Regions from separate parts of the Homo sapiens genome. Here region 2 is linked to region 1. The links are contacts of gene promoters, found by promoter capture Hi-C in blood cells and fetal thymus (Javierre and others, 2016). All regions are on one chromosome and are shown on one strand. Each heading gives the region's core, a stretch centred on a gene start or on the middle of the fragment in contact. The rest is flanking DNA. Distances are from core to core; before and after follow the strand shown. Region 1 holds the start of PDC (phosducin). Region 2 overlaps PLA2G4A (phospholipase A2 group IVA).

The links. Contacts are between HindIII fragments. The CHiCAGO score rates a contact against its expected background, and 5 or more counts as called.
Region 2: a fragment that was not itself captured here is called in contact with the fragment with the promoter of PDC in region 1 in 1 of 17 cell types (erythroblasts); the score reaches 6.0 in erythroblasts.

The regions. Positions count from the first base shown.
Region 1 is chr1:186,456,970-186,464,018 of GRCh38, forward strand. PDC (phosducin) reads right to left here and starts at 4,145. Exons shown (of 4, transcript NM_002597.5): 1 at 4,090-4,145. All of the region lies in intron 3 of PDC-AS1 (PDC antisense RNA 1), which reads left to right. The HindIII fragment of the contact is 3,468 bases long and covers 1,412-4,879 here.
Region 2 is chr1:186,948,665-186,955,713 of GRCh38, forward strand. It overlaps PLA2G4A (phospholipase A2 group IVA), which reads left to right. Exons shown (of 18, transcript NM_024420.3): 13 at 1,993-2,064. Among named protein-coding and RNA genes, the nearest start is that of PLA2G4A, 120 kb to the left of the region's middle. RefSeq lists a silencer at 2,000-2,200. The HindIII fragment of the contact is 9,445 bases long and covers 1-7,049 here.

The DNA.
Region 1 (7,049 bases), core at 2,895-5,394:
GAAATCTACATTTGGTATCTTGATCTGTGCCCCACGGAGTGTCACACTGTGTTCTAGTCACCCTTGCAGGGCTTTACGTCCTACTTTTCTCTACCTCTAACCATACATCTCCTTAGGTCTCTGCTTTCCTGTTTTCTAAGGTGACTGTGAGCTAATCTGATCAACTAAGCTAAGCTAATATGCTCACCAATACAGACACATTAATATGAAGTGTTTTAACCCCTTCCAAGAATATCTTCCCCAATGTCATATTGGACTCTATAGAAAGCAGTTGTGCCTTTCCTTTCTTGTTAAAATAAATTATCAGTGGTGAGAATTTCATATCAGATAGGTTTGACAACACCATGTCAGATCATGAAAGTATTACTGGGCTTGTGGAGACTTTCAGTGTCTCCACAAGAGACACACAGGGGATTTTATGCCTCATAACAATTAATTTCTTGAATTAATTGGAATTGGAAAATGGGAATGATTATTTAATTTGAATGTAGCATACTTGTTTTCCAATGAATTGTCTTCCCTACCCATGATTTTGCGGATCATAAGTGATTTTCTGTTTGATTTTCCCTTTTGCATTTATGTTGTAATGCTTTATATATCTTTTCTGAATTTCAGTTCTCTAATGGAGTAAGACAATACTTAGGATTTTTGTTGCCACCTTCAGTTATGTTAGTTGTTAATTTTGGGATAGGTCAATTTTTACATTTGGTGGTATCATAATAAGAGTTTTCTTTAAAATTAAATTTTGGGACGCATGAGTGGAATACAGGACACATGGTCCTCAAAATGGCTATAACAAATTAGAAAATTGTTGGCAGTCAGCAAATGTTTGTTTTCTTTCTTTTAAATACAAAACATTCATCCTGATGCTGTTGAAAATTTTCCTTACTTTATGCCTGACTTCCCCCCACTCCCAGTATCTAGATAAAGTTCATAAGAACTTTGATAGAAAAACTATGATAGAAATTTTGATATAAGACACTATAGAACTGATGTAATATTTTCTGTTTCTACCCTACTCAAATAGTTTTGCTTTTTCAACAAATGGGACTGGGCAGGGGAGTTGTAGGGAGCCTTTTAAACAATTAGTATGTCAGGAATGCATAGCAAATATCAATTTCCTATCTGTTATCCTGTATCATCAGTAAAAAAAAATTTACTCTGGAAATATGAGCTTTAAAAGTCATAACTGAATTCTTGTTCCTAGTGAAAAGACATCCACCTATCCAAGTTTGCTATTATGACATACAGATATTCTTTTTTTTTTTTTTTTTTTTTTTTTAGAAAGAAGGTTGAGACAAGAGCACAACTTTTAATACAAAATAAAAAGAATTAAGTGGCATCTGGGACAAAAAATTAGGGAACTAAAATAATTCAAAGGAAAGAGAAAAAGTCTTGGTCATGTTTGCCAAGCTTTGAATATTAGACCTTGCTTTTTTCCCAGAGATTGTCAGTGCACGCTGGTTGTGCAATATCAACCAGGATTAGGCAGGTGTGGGAGCCACAGAAGCCACTCCACCACACTTTTAAGTCATTTCATTAGAGTCGCCTCAGAAGTCCTGGTGAGACAATCCTAGGAGTCCTCTTTGGCTGTCTTGCTTGATATTCTCAAGCAAGTCCATTCTGCTAGACGCCTGCATCTGGGTACTCCTCCCTTTTTAACTCCAGTCCCCACAGGGTCATTTAAGAAAATGTATGCATGTTTCTGATTCATAACTATATTATGATGATTATTCTTATAAACCCTTTTGACGTCTAAAAGCCTTAGAGCCACTCAACAGTCCTGTTTGGGCCAGTCTCCTGGAATATGAGAAAAGATGAAGAATGGGAGTGTTATGGAGGGCATACGCCCCTCTGATCATCACCACAAAGAGTGGAGCCCTTCATGGTCCCAGCTGAAAGCCTGGAGAGGCTGCGCGCGGTGGCTCACGCCTGTAATCCCAACGCTTTGAGAGGCCAAGGCAGGTGGATCACTTGAGCGCAGGAATTCAAGACCAGCCTGGGCAACATGGCAAAACCCCATCTCTACAAAAAGTACAAAAATTAACCGGGCGTGGTGGTGGGTGCCTGTAGTCCCAGATACTCCGGAGGCTGACGCAGGAGAATCGCTTGAACCTGGGAGGCGCAGGTTGCAGTGAGCCGACATCTCGCCACTGCACTCCAGCCTGGGGGACAGAATGAGACTCCAACTCAAAAAAAGAAAAAAAGAAAAAGAAAGCCTGGGGATATTTACCAGGACCCTTCCTCCTTTTCAGGCCCTAGATTCTAAGATCCTGCTTTGCAGATCTGAAGTGGGACCCAGGAATCTTTAACAAGCTCTAAGCCTGCCGAGTGCCTGCGATTGCAGGCACGCGCCGCCACGCCTGACTGGTTTTGGTGGAGACGGGGTTTCGCTGTGTTGGCCGGGTCTCCAGCCCCTAACCGCGAGTGATCCGCCAGCCTTGGCCTCCCGAGGTGCCGGGATTGCAGACATACAGATATTCTTTTACTTGTTCTGGAGAAAATAGAATTTTAGAAATTCATAACAGCCATCTTTTTTAAAGTATCTGTTTATCTTGTAAATATACATATTCCTGTACATATTGTTTGAATTCCATTACAGACATTATTATGAATGGTTCATATATATTTTGATAATGACTTATATAATATCAAATCCACTTATAAACATAGTATTTGGGCAGAAATTGTCATGATGAATTAGATGATCTCTAAAGTTTTTTCTAGCTTTAATATGAGGTGATTCTAAGTAGCAGGTACAATGGACAATATGTGTGTGTGTGTATATATATATATATATATATATATATATTTAAAATGGACTCTATAGTTAGAAGCTATTTTTGCAGTTAATAAAAATACTCCATTGCAAATCAATTACTGCACTCATTTTCATGATGCAAACTGTAAGGTTTATTAGTAATAATAATAACCTCCATGGAAACAAAATAGAAAAAAAAAAACCAATTGAAAGAAAATTTTCACTGAATTTAAGAAATATCAACAAACTCTGTGTTCTTTTCTTTTAAAAACATTATTTCTGTTTCATTAAATTTCTAAAGTAACCTTTCAAAACAAACATTATTTCTACTTTAAAAATTAAAAACCACCAACAAACCACCGCCACAACAACATACTACTAAGGAAAAGCCTCAAAACATGCCTTAGCGCCGGATGAATACAGCAGTCCTCACTTATCTGAGGTTTTTCTTTCTGTGATTACAGTTACCCTTGGTCAACCTTGGTCCAAAAATATTAGATGAAAAATTCCAGAGATAAACAATTTGCAAGTTTTAGATTTGCAGTGTACTGAGTAGCTTGATGAAATCTCACACTATCCTGCTCTCTCTGGCCTGGAACATGAAACATCTCTTTGTATACCATATCCACACCATATGCATTACTGTCTTGGTTATCAGATTGACTATTGCAGTGCTTGTGTTCAAGTAACCCTTATTTACTTAATAAGGTCCCAAAGCGCAAGTGTTGTGATGGTAGCATATTGTTATAAAGGTTCTATTTTATTATTAGTGATTATGGTTAACCTCTGACTGTGTCTAATTTATAAATTAAACTTTATCACAGGTATGTATGTTCAGGAAAACAACATAGTATACACACAAGGTTCAGTTTTATCTATGGTTTTAGGCATCCAGTGGGGGTCCTGGAACATATCCCCCTTGGATAAGGGGCAACTACCGCACTCCTTTTCCAACTTGGGAGCCAGATCTTCAAACATAAAGTGCAAGGACTCATCATTTATTCTCTTTAGTTCTCCCTTCACTCAAAGGAAATTTAAAATTGCAAAATGAGTTCTCCATTCATGGTCTTATTTTAACAGTCTAGAATATCAGGCTCAAAATTGCGTGTTTACTCTGAATCTGTATTAGTGAAGATGACTGGTGGAAATCACTGAAAGAGAGAAGGATACGCTGTATTTAATTGTCTTTATAGTAGATAATTCAAAACCTTATGTACTTTGAACTATTTTACATTAACACAATAATACATAAACAGTGAATCACCATTCTTTCCCCTAAGGTAAAATTTTTAAAATTATATTATCAAAAGGACTACTTGTGGACTCACAGTTTGGATCTCTGTGCCTGGTGTCCTTGTTGAGTGGGTGAGAATCCCTGTCTACTGAACTCGTCTTGAACTTCAATAGGTTTAAGCTCAGATTTAAAATCTCCAGATATTGATGACCCTTGCAGAAATAGCTCTGAACAAGTAATAGGATTGACAGAATTAGCAAGGCCAGTTCATTAATAATAAGGCAAAACCAAACAAAGAGTAGTCAGTTTATATTTTACAGAACACATTGAATAGATGAGAGACAGAGGTCATTATTAGTACTATTTATCGCAATAACATGAGTTGTATTCATTAGTCCCATAATCATCTACTGAGCACCTACTTTGTGTGAAACAAGCAGTAGCTAGGCACTAGGGTACAAAGACAAATAAACCCTATTTCCTATATCGTGAGGCTTGCAGTCTAGTGGGGGAGACAGGTAAGTAAAAAGATAATCACAATGAAGTGCTATGATTACTACAACATTGGGAGGAATAAGAGAGATACTATGATTTTCATCTTCTCTTACTACAGGCTTTTAATACAATTTTTTCAGATGGGCTGTCTTTACAGATCTACTTGCTTTCTGGATTCTAGTTTTATTGGCATTTTCTCCTTTTCACTTCTCCTTATTGTTTCTGGTTTTTACCATTAAAAATTCCTTTCCTGCTGTTTTTTAATGGAGTTTTGAGATGTAGGGGAAGTAGATGCATGTGTTTAATCTTCCATCTTTTCCTAACATCTTTCATCCTCACAGCCAAATTCTCATCTAACTTTGCCAAAGTAGGAGATTTAATTTACTCTAAGCTTAAAACTGGAAATTTTTAATTAGCAAGAGGACAAAATTTTTAATATTAATGGCAATTAAAATGAACACATTTAGATTTTTAAATTATAAGGTTTAGTCATATGTAGCTTCACCCAGAAACTTTAAGTGGATCTTAATGCAATTTAAACAGTGATAGTGTCTAAATAAATTTTAATAGTTATGTTTTATTATACTAAATTAATTTGTCATTTATTTACTCTTTGTTAGTAAGAGGGAAACCTGTCACATTTCAGAACTTTGTTTGCTTATATATTTTTTATTGTAGAATTTGATTTCAAGAATAGAGAAGAGTACATAAAATTTACAATATTTAAGAGAGTCACAACCATAAATATTTTCAAAGAGATTCTTCCAGAAATCAAAGTATTTTCTAAATTAACTTTCATTTTCATCCTTAAATCAAATTTTTACCTCCCATTTAGCAGGTTTCATGTTCCAGTTTGTGTGCTATACATATGCTTTTCAACAGAGTTTCTCAGGGCAATTCACTTTCAGTTTTTATGAACTGAGTGTTTTCTCTCTAGCTAAAGAATCTAGAATGTAGTCAGGTGCAATACAAATGTAACTTAAAAGATGCCTTCTGATGGCAAATGTGAAGAAATTTAATATTTCAGTTTGATGATAAAAAATGTCATAGTGGTTTTAACATTCAAAAAATATGTTTTAAGTTACTGTCAAATATAGCTTGGTACTCATATGTTCAAATATGTAATATAGGCACAAGCATAGAGACTTAACGGTAAAAAAAAAATTACTATAGCAATTCCTATCCTACCCCCACCTTCCCAACACAGATATTTCCATAATTTGCTTTTTATTTTGTGCTATCTCTGGCACCTGTTCACTGGAGGGATTTGGGGTCATTACGGACATCACACACTTGCCTACAATTTGGACAAGCATATCTGATCTAATTGCTTCAATTATGAATTGAGTAATTTTTGTAGATCATGAAAACTTGTCAAGAGTCAAAGCCCAAAAGGTCATTATTTCACACATATGATTCTTGATTGATGTAAAAACATTTAAAAGTATTAGAATTATATGTTGATATAGTGTTTAGATTTTTATATATGATTTTACATCCAATTTTAAGAATACTAAATACTTTACAAGGCACAAACATTATAAACCAGCTGAAAATAATCTTAGAAAACAGAAATAAAAATATTAATAATTAGGACACTTTCTGAGTGCTCATCATGCCAGGTCAGGTACTAATTGTTTACTTCGCATAATCTTTACAACAATCCCCTGAGGTAGGTCAAGTATAATTTTATAGATGAGGAGACAGGCTTGGATAAGTTTTATAACTTATCTAACTGATGCATTTATTCCCCAATATTAGTGGAATGCCTACTGTGTGAAAGCACTCTTCTGTGGACAAGGTACTTCTATATACAGCAGCAAGAAAACAGTTTTTATGTTTCAAATGTTGACATTATGTCCATGCAGACCCCAGCGTTCGAATTCAGGTATGACTTAATTCCATGGTCCACACTGTTAACCAGTAAAGTCTCCTGTTTAGGGCAGATTAAATTACCTGCTCTAAAAAGATGAAATTACAGAATTTTCTTTAAATCCTAAACAGCCTTCAGTGTAGATTCTTCTGGTTCCAAGGCTGTCATATATATCTACTTGCTCTTTTTTTTTTTCTTTTTGAGCGTGAGAAAGTTAATTGTAAGGACAGAATTGAAAGAAAACCATGAATTCCTTAGGAGTTCAAGGACAGCTATACACTCTAGTCCTAGGAGAATGGAATGTCAGCTCAAAATCTTGGAGGATACAATGCTGGAGTAAACACCTTAGCAGCTGGGAGGGGTCTGTTGATCTTCCCAGTAGGGCTCAAATACCAAGATTGCGGCTTTCCATCCCACTAACCGCATGCACTGCCTGCCCCCAACCCTGCTCCTCCCGCCGTGGCTGATCTTCTGTCACTAGTTAATACTCTTCCTAAGGCCTTCCATATCACCTTTACTTTACAGCCTGTGCTTCCTCAATATATATTTTCTTATTTGTTCTGTTTTCCATAACCCCCCTCATGGCCTTGACTCTACTCAAGACACCTATCTATAGAAGTTTTTTAAGCCTCCCATCTATTGATAACAGCTTGGCTATTTCCATGTTTCCAAATGAGTATTCTGGG
Region 2 (7,049 bases), core at 2,727-5,226, 490 kb after region 1:
GTGGGTGAGACAGTGGCTAAAAGCCAAGGAAAAGGAGGAGGTTTATACTAGGTAGTTTTGAGAAGGTTCTTTGTTGAGAAGTTTCTTTAGAGGCCGGCAGTCTGGCAGCTTATTGACTCGGACTGTGTGTCAGACTGAGGGGGAATATCGTGTATGTGTGATCCGCCAGTCAGCAGGAAGCATGTTACCTCAGATTAAGTAAGGATTTCCAGAAATGAAACCAGAGAGGTGACCAAGAGGACTCTGAGGACTCCTGGTGACTACTCTATCCTTTGGCTGACTGAAGTCTATCTCCTAAAGGAGTGTTCAGAGATGATTTTTACTTTTTTGTTTTCTTCCTTCTGAAGAAAGACTTTAAGGTAAATTGGGCTACAATCAGGTAACTCTGAATGAAACTACTTACTCTCTAAGGAGTTTTGAATGAATGTGAAAAATTTACACTTTTGAGAGATGGAGTTGTACATTATACTAGGATGGAAAATATGTAAATTCAGAATAGTTAGCTATTCATATCGTGAATTCTTCCTTACAAATAAGACAGTATTTTGGTGAACTATTTTCTTAAACTATCATATGTGACAGAAAGAAAGAAAGGAAAGAAAGAAAGAAGAAAGAAAGAAGAAAAAGAAGGAAAAAGAAAGAAAGAGAAAGAAGGAAGGAAGGAAGGAAAGAAGAAAGAAAGAGAAAGAAAGAAAGAGAAAGAAAGAAAAGAAAGAAAGAAAGAAAAAAGAAAAAGAAAGAAGAAAGAAAGAAAGGCAATAGAAAGAAAGAAAATACTTAAGGAAGGAAAAGAAAATAAATGTAGGACTAGAAACACACCTAATGTATATGGCACCTGGGATAGATCATTTCTTAACATCTCCCACACCTCTGTGTAACAAAATTACTATTGATGATAGCCATGAAATGAAACTAATAATATTAGCTTGTGAACATTTAATCAAATTTTTTATGTATAATCATGCCAGTAAAAACTTAAAAAATAAATGTCAATCCATTGCCTTAAGCATTTATTAACCCTTCCATTACTAACTCTTGCTCATTCACGCACATTTTACTTGAAAAAAGACAACTAGTCTGGGCACTGTGGCTCACACCAGTAATCCCAGTTCTTTGGGAGGCCAAGGAAGGATGATCACTTGAGTCCAGGAGTTTGAGACCAGCCTAGGCAATAGAGTGAGACTTCATTTCTACCAAAAAAAAAAAAAAAAAATTAAAAAAATTAGCCAAGCATGATGGTCCATGCCTATAATCCCAGCTACTCAGGAGGCTAAGGTGGAACGGTTGCTTGAGCCCAGAGGCAGAGGTTGAAATGAGCAGAGATCATGCCACTGCAGGCCAGCCTGGGTAACCATTTAAAAAACATAAAGAAGAAAGATAACTAGTTATTATGCTAGAATTTACTGCTGTCTTTGTTTTAAGGATTTCTGGTTGTTATTTTAGTTTTTATAACTGCTCTCTTAATATGTTCTGCAGGAAGCACAAATTCTTGACACCAAAAGGTGAATTTCAACTGACAATTTTCAATATTATTGAAAGTCAAAAGATAATTTATGTTAGTATCTTTCATTCATTTTAAGAAAACTGTTTGGTAGCTCACCTGTAGATTTTGGTTTTATCCTTTATCTTCATAAACACCACTTAAAAATATCTAATAAAGAAAAAGGCATATTTTTTGGTATAACAAGGAGCTTCCTATAATCAAGTTGTTATTTTTGTCAGAATTATGATAAACATAAAATTATCCTCTTTAAGTCATGAATTAATAAATATAAACTAATTTTTCATGTCCCAGGAAATTTTGTTTCCAGTGAGAAATCTGAGAACATGATTAAATCTAATAAATCTAGAATTATTAAATGGATTTAAATTTATACTAGTAGAGCTAGTAGATCTCACTCTGTGGTTTTGCTCAGATTACTTTTTTATATTAAAATTAATTGTTAATTTTGACACCTGAAATGCTTCAATTTTTTTGTTTTCTTTTCACAGAAAATATTACCACAAAGCATATTGTGAGTAATGATAGCTCGGACAGTGATGATGAATCACACGAACCCAAAGGTGAGTGAGCCGGAAACTTTTCTGGCCCAGATCCATGAGGAAAGGATATGAACACTCTGTCTGATTTTCTCACTCAAGATGCTGATGGTAATCTTCACTTCAGACACGGAAGTGATAAAATTGTAGCTTTCTGTTGAGAGAGAGGATTGCATGTTGCATGTCTAATAAAATAGGCAGCACATATAAATCCCTAATTTATTTTGTTTTAATACCTCAAAAATACTATAAGTTGAACAAATGAACAGATCCAAGATGGTAGAAATGCTGAATTCTATTTTAAGTCTGATTAGAGCACTAGGCTTCTCAGCATGGTTACTGTGATTTGGGAACATTTTTAGATGGCTTTAAAAATTAACATTTTGTCTTTCAGAATTTTGTTATTAAGTAACATGAAAAATTATATTCTCACTCCATTCCTGACCCTTATCCCACTGGCTACACCCTCCCTCTTGAGAAAGGATTAGTGATGAAGTGGGGTAAAAGTATCAAGAACTTGATACGTATATTATTTCATAGTATAAATGAGCCCTTTTACATTTTGACAAGGTAGTTTGCAGTTTGGTGTGGATTATGATAGTCAGTGATGGACTTGGGGCAGAGATAAGGTGAGGATCAGATTTGCAACAAATATGAAAGTCATATTTGTTGTAAATGTTTTGTGGTAAAATAGATTATTTTGACACAGTGTTTTGAGACAGCCATTTATAAAAATGTTCCCAATAGTTAAAAAAAAGCCAACAAACAAAAACAAAAACAACAACAACAAAAAACAAAACAAAGGGAAGGCTTTATAAGAACTGGATATATCTGTCCTATTACAGTTTGAATATGATCATCTAGATTTTAGAAGATATTAAATGCTTTCTGGTCCAAAACTTAATTAATTCCACTAGGCATGGAAGAGCCTGTTTTATCCTTGCTTAATTATTACTAAAATTAAAATTCTTTTTTCATAGCTGGGCTATTACTTCCTCAGAAGATGTGTTTGTGTAAATTAAAGAAAAGCTGCCTTCTCTGGAGAATGTAGCTGCACAGGGCCATGGCTTGGCTAGTGTATGTTGTCTTGCGAACATTAAAAAAGAGGATTCCTTCCCTGGGCAGCCAACGCTTTCATCTGGGCATGAGGCTTGGCTAGATGAGTGCAAGTTGGGTTCAGCCCTGATTTGCCCCCCTATCCTGCTGCGTTATGTAGCCCATGATCTGCCTAATCAAATAATGACCAGCAGCCCTGATCATTAAGCAGGAACCCCAAAAGAACCCTGTCCTGGAAGCAAGCAAGTCTTCATCCTGGCTCCTTCATTTTTAAAATTTAAAATTTATATATATTTTAGTTGTTTAAGTCCTTTTTGTTTTGAATTTCCTTTTAATGAAGGAAGCTAGCTATTGTAAAGGGGATAGCTATCACATGCCTAGCATCTTTAGAATTATTTGTGTATTGATTTAGGGACTACTGAGGAGACAGAATAATGGTTTCTCCATTATTAAGTATTTCTATAGATAGTCAGTACATTTGATAACCCCTACAGTACTAGCTGAGTCTTAAGGCTGAGAAGTTCAAGGACTGTTGAATATGGCTGCTTTGGTTTTAGGATCAGCCTTGCTTACAGCATGATATGTAGTATGTGGTTAAGGTTTTCTTTTCGGCTCTTAGTATTTATTTTTTCTCTTTTACATAGAGTTTTTAGAGCAGTTTTAGGCTCAAAGCAAAACTGAGCACAAAGTACAGAGTTCCCATATGTCCCCTGTCCACCTTCCACCACCCCTGCCTCTCCCACTATAAACATTCCACACCAGAGTGGTACATTTGTTACAAGTGATGAACTTAAATTGACATTATTATCAGTCAAAGTCCATAGTTTACAGTAGGACTCACTGTTAGTGTATATTCTATGGGTTTTGACAAATATGTAATGACATATATTCATCATTATACATGTCACACACACTAGTTTCACTGCTCTAAAAATCCTGTCTCCTGCCCCGTCCCCTCCTCCCCCAACCCCTAACAAGCACTAATCATTTTACTCTCTCCATAGTTTTGCCTTTTCCAGAATGTCATGTAGTCAGAATCAAACAATAATGTAGCCTTTTCAGATCTTTCACTTAGTAGTGTGCATTTAAAGTTCCTCTATGTTTTTTCTTGGCTTCATAGCTTATTTTTTTAGCACTGAATAATATTACATTGTCAGGTTGTGCCACAGTTTAGTTATTCATTCACCTGCTGAGGAAGGTGAACTTGGAAAACTTGAAGTTTGCTTCCAAGTTTTGGACATTATGAATAAAACTGCTAGAAAAATCTATGTACATGTTTTGGTGCAGACACAGATTTTTCAGTTTATTTGGGTAAATACCATGGAGCACAATTGCTGGATCATATGGTAAGAGTATATTTAGTTTTGTAAGAAACTGCCAAATGGTCTTCCAAAGTGGCTGTACCATTTTGCATTCCACTACCAGCCATGAATGAGAGTTCTTGTTGCTCCACATCTTTTAAACATTTGGTATTACCTGTGCTTTGGATATTGGTCATTCTAATAGGTATGTAGTAGTATCTTTTTATTGTTTTAATTTGCATTTCTCAAATGACATTTAACTTGAAGCATCTTCTCATATGCTTATCTGCTATCTGTATATCGTTTTGATGAGGTATCAGTTCAGGCCTTTGGCCCATTTTTGGATTGGGGTTATTTTCTTATTATTGAATTTAAAGTGTTCTTTGTATGTTTTATATTACATGTTTTAAATCAAATATGTCTGTTGCAAATAATTTCTTTCAATCTGTGGGTTATCCTTTTATTCTCTTGAGGCTCTTTCATGTTTAGTCATATGATTTTGAGCAAAGTTTTAGGCATTTTCAGCTTTAGTTTCTTCAGACCTATCCTGGAACCATTTACCTTCTCTCACAGAATTGTTGCAATCATTAATTTAGCAAATGCATACAAAAGGGCTCTAAGTTGTAAAGGGCGATGCAAATAGAAATGTACTATTACTGTTATGATTAATAAGCAATAAGTATCATTTATATGTTGACTGTTGGGTTTGTCCCACAAGTGATGCCATTATCAAAGGTATCCTGGTATGGAAGTGAGGGCTTATTGAATAAGAAGAAGAAAAGTAAGAAGCGACAGCCCCAAAATCTTTGGAAATAATTGCATATCCTATTTATATGCTGTGTAACTAGAGATAGAAATCGTTCACTTTAAAGCCTGAATTGTTCTAGTAAAAGACATATTTTGTCCTGTTTGGCATTAGAAAAGTGTAAGAGTAGAAAGTAGTGTATTTGTTTTTGGTGACTATATAGTCATCTGGACTGGTTACTGAATGAAAGATCTCTTCATTTACTCAGCTCAGTTAAACAAATACCTGTGAAGATAAGGATTATAAATCATGCTACTATAAAGACACATGCACATGTATGTTTATGGTGGCGCTATTCATAATAGCAAAGACTTGGAACCAACCCAAATGTCCATTGTGGTAGACAGGATTAAGAAAATGTGGCAAATATATACCATGGAATACTATATAGCCATAAAAAAGGATGGGTTCATGTCCTTTGCAGGAACATGCATGAAGCTGGAAACCATCATTCTCAGCAAACTATCACAAAGACAGAAAACCAAACACCACATATTCTCACTCATAGGTGGGAATTAAACAATAGAACACTTGGACACCGGGTGGGGAACATCACACACCAGGGCCTGTCAGGGTGTGGGGGGCTGGGGGAGGGATAGCATTAGGAGAAATACCTAATATAAATGATGAGTTGATGGGTGCAGCAAACCAACATGACACATGTATAGCTATGTATCAAACCTGCACATTGTGCACATGTACCCTATAATTTTAAGTGTAATAAAAATATATATTTATTATGGTTTTATGTATGTTTAGTTTACATTTATTGGAAATTATGAAGCTGACTATAGAATCTCTTTTTTCTCTTTATTTCAACACACACACACACAATCACGCACACATACACACACAGTTTTATAAATGTGTGACTATTTATATACAGGGTTCCTAGAAATCAGAAAAAAACGGGGTTTAGGCAGGTGAAGTTATACATTACCATAAATTATTCTTTGATTTTGATTATGAATAAATAAGATTGATGATTATGATGCTTCTGCTGCTGCTGCTACAACTGTTTCTGCTGCTAGCTAGTGTTTATTAAGAATTTAATACGAGCCAGGCATTTTTCTAAGAACATTACATAGATGCACAAACACAGTTAATTCTCACAACTTTAGGAGGTTTATCAGTGAGGAAATGGAGGAAGAGAAGGGGAAAGTAACTAGAAAATAGTGGAGAGAGGGTTGAGACCCAAGGATTCTGATTCTGGAGGCAGTGCTATAAATGACCATACAATATAATTTCCCAGGAGTAATGGTGTATGCATAGGTGGTAAGGAAAAAGTCATTTAAAACTGCTTCTTTGGGGTGATTGCTGAATTTTAAAATGTTTAGGCATTTGTTTAAATTAAAGGCTTTTAAATCCCCAAACTTTATAAGCAAGGATGAAATGACAGGTCATAAGATCAATAGGTCATAAGGGTGTTTATTTAGTAGCAAATATATGTTGAATCCTTTAGCTCTCTCTCCTCATTTTGCAGAAATCCTGAATGTTTGTTAAACAGGGTAAGATTTCTTAAGGTAACTTAAGAAATGTAGAGGATAGAATTAACCACTGGATTTTCTGTGTGTAAGTTATATGTGTGCATGCAAGTGCGTGCACTTGAAGCCAGAGAAAAGGAAGAAATCAATTCAGGAAAGAAGGGAAGGGGGAACATGAAAGAAATTTACCTGGAAATCTGAGCATAGATCAAGTGGCACTGTCGAGAATATACCCCTTACACGCACTGTAGGTAAAAGGAGAACTAAGAACAAATTAAGAACAAAAATGATTAACTGCAATATTAATTTAGGCAAATACACATGTTAAACCAAATATAGAGCTTTATTGTTAATTTTAACATT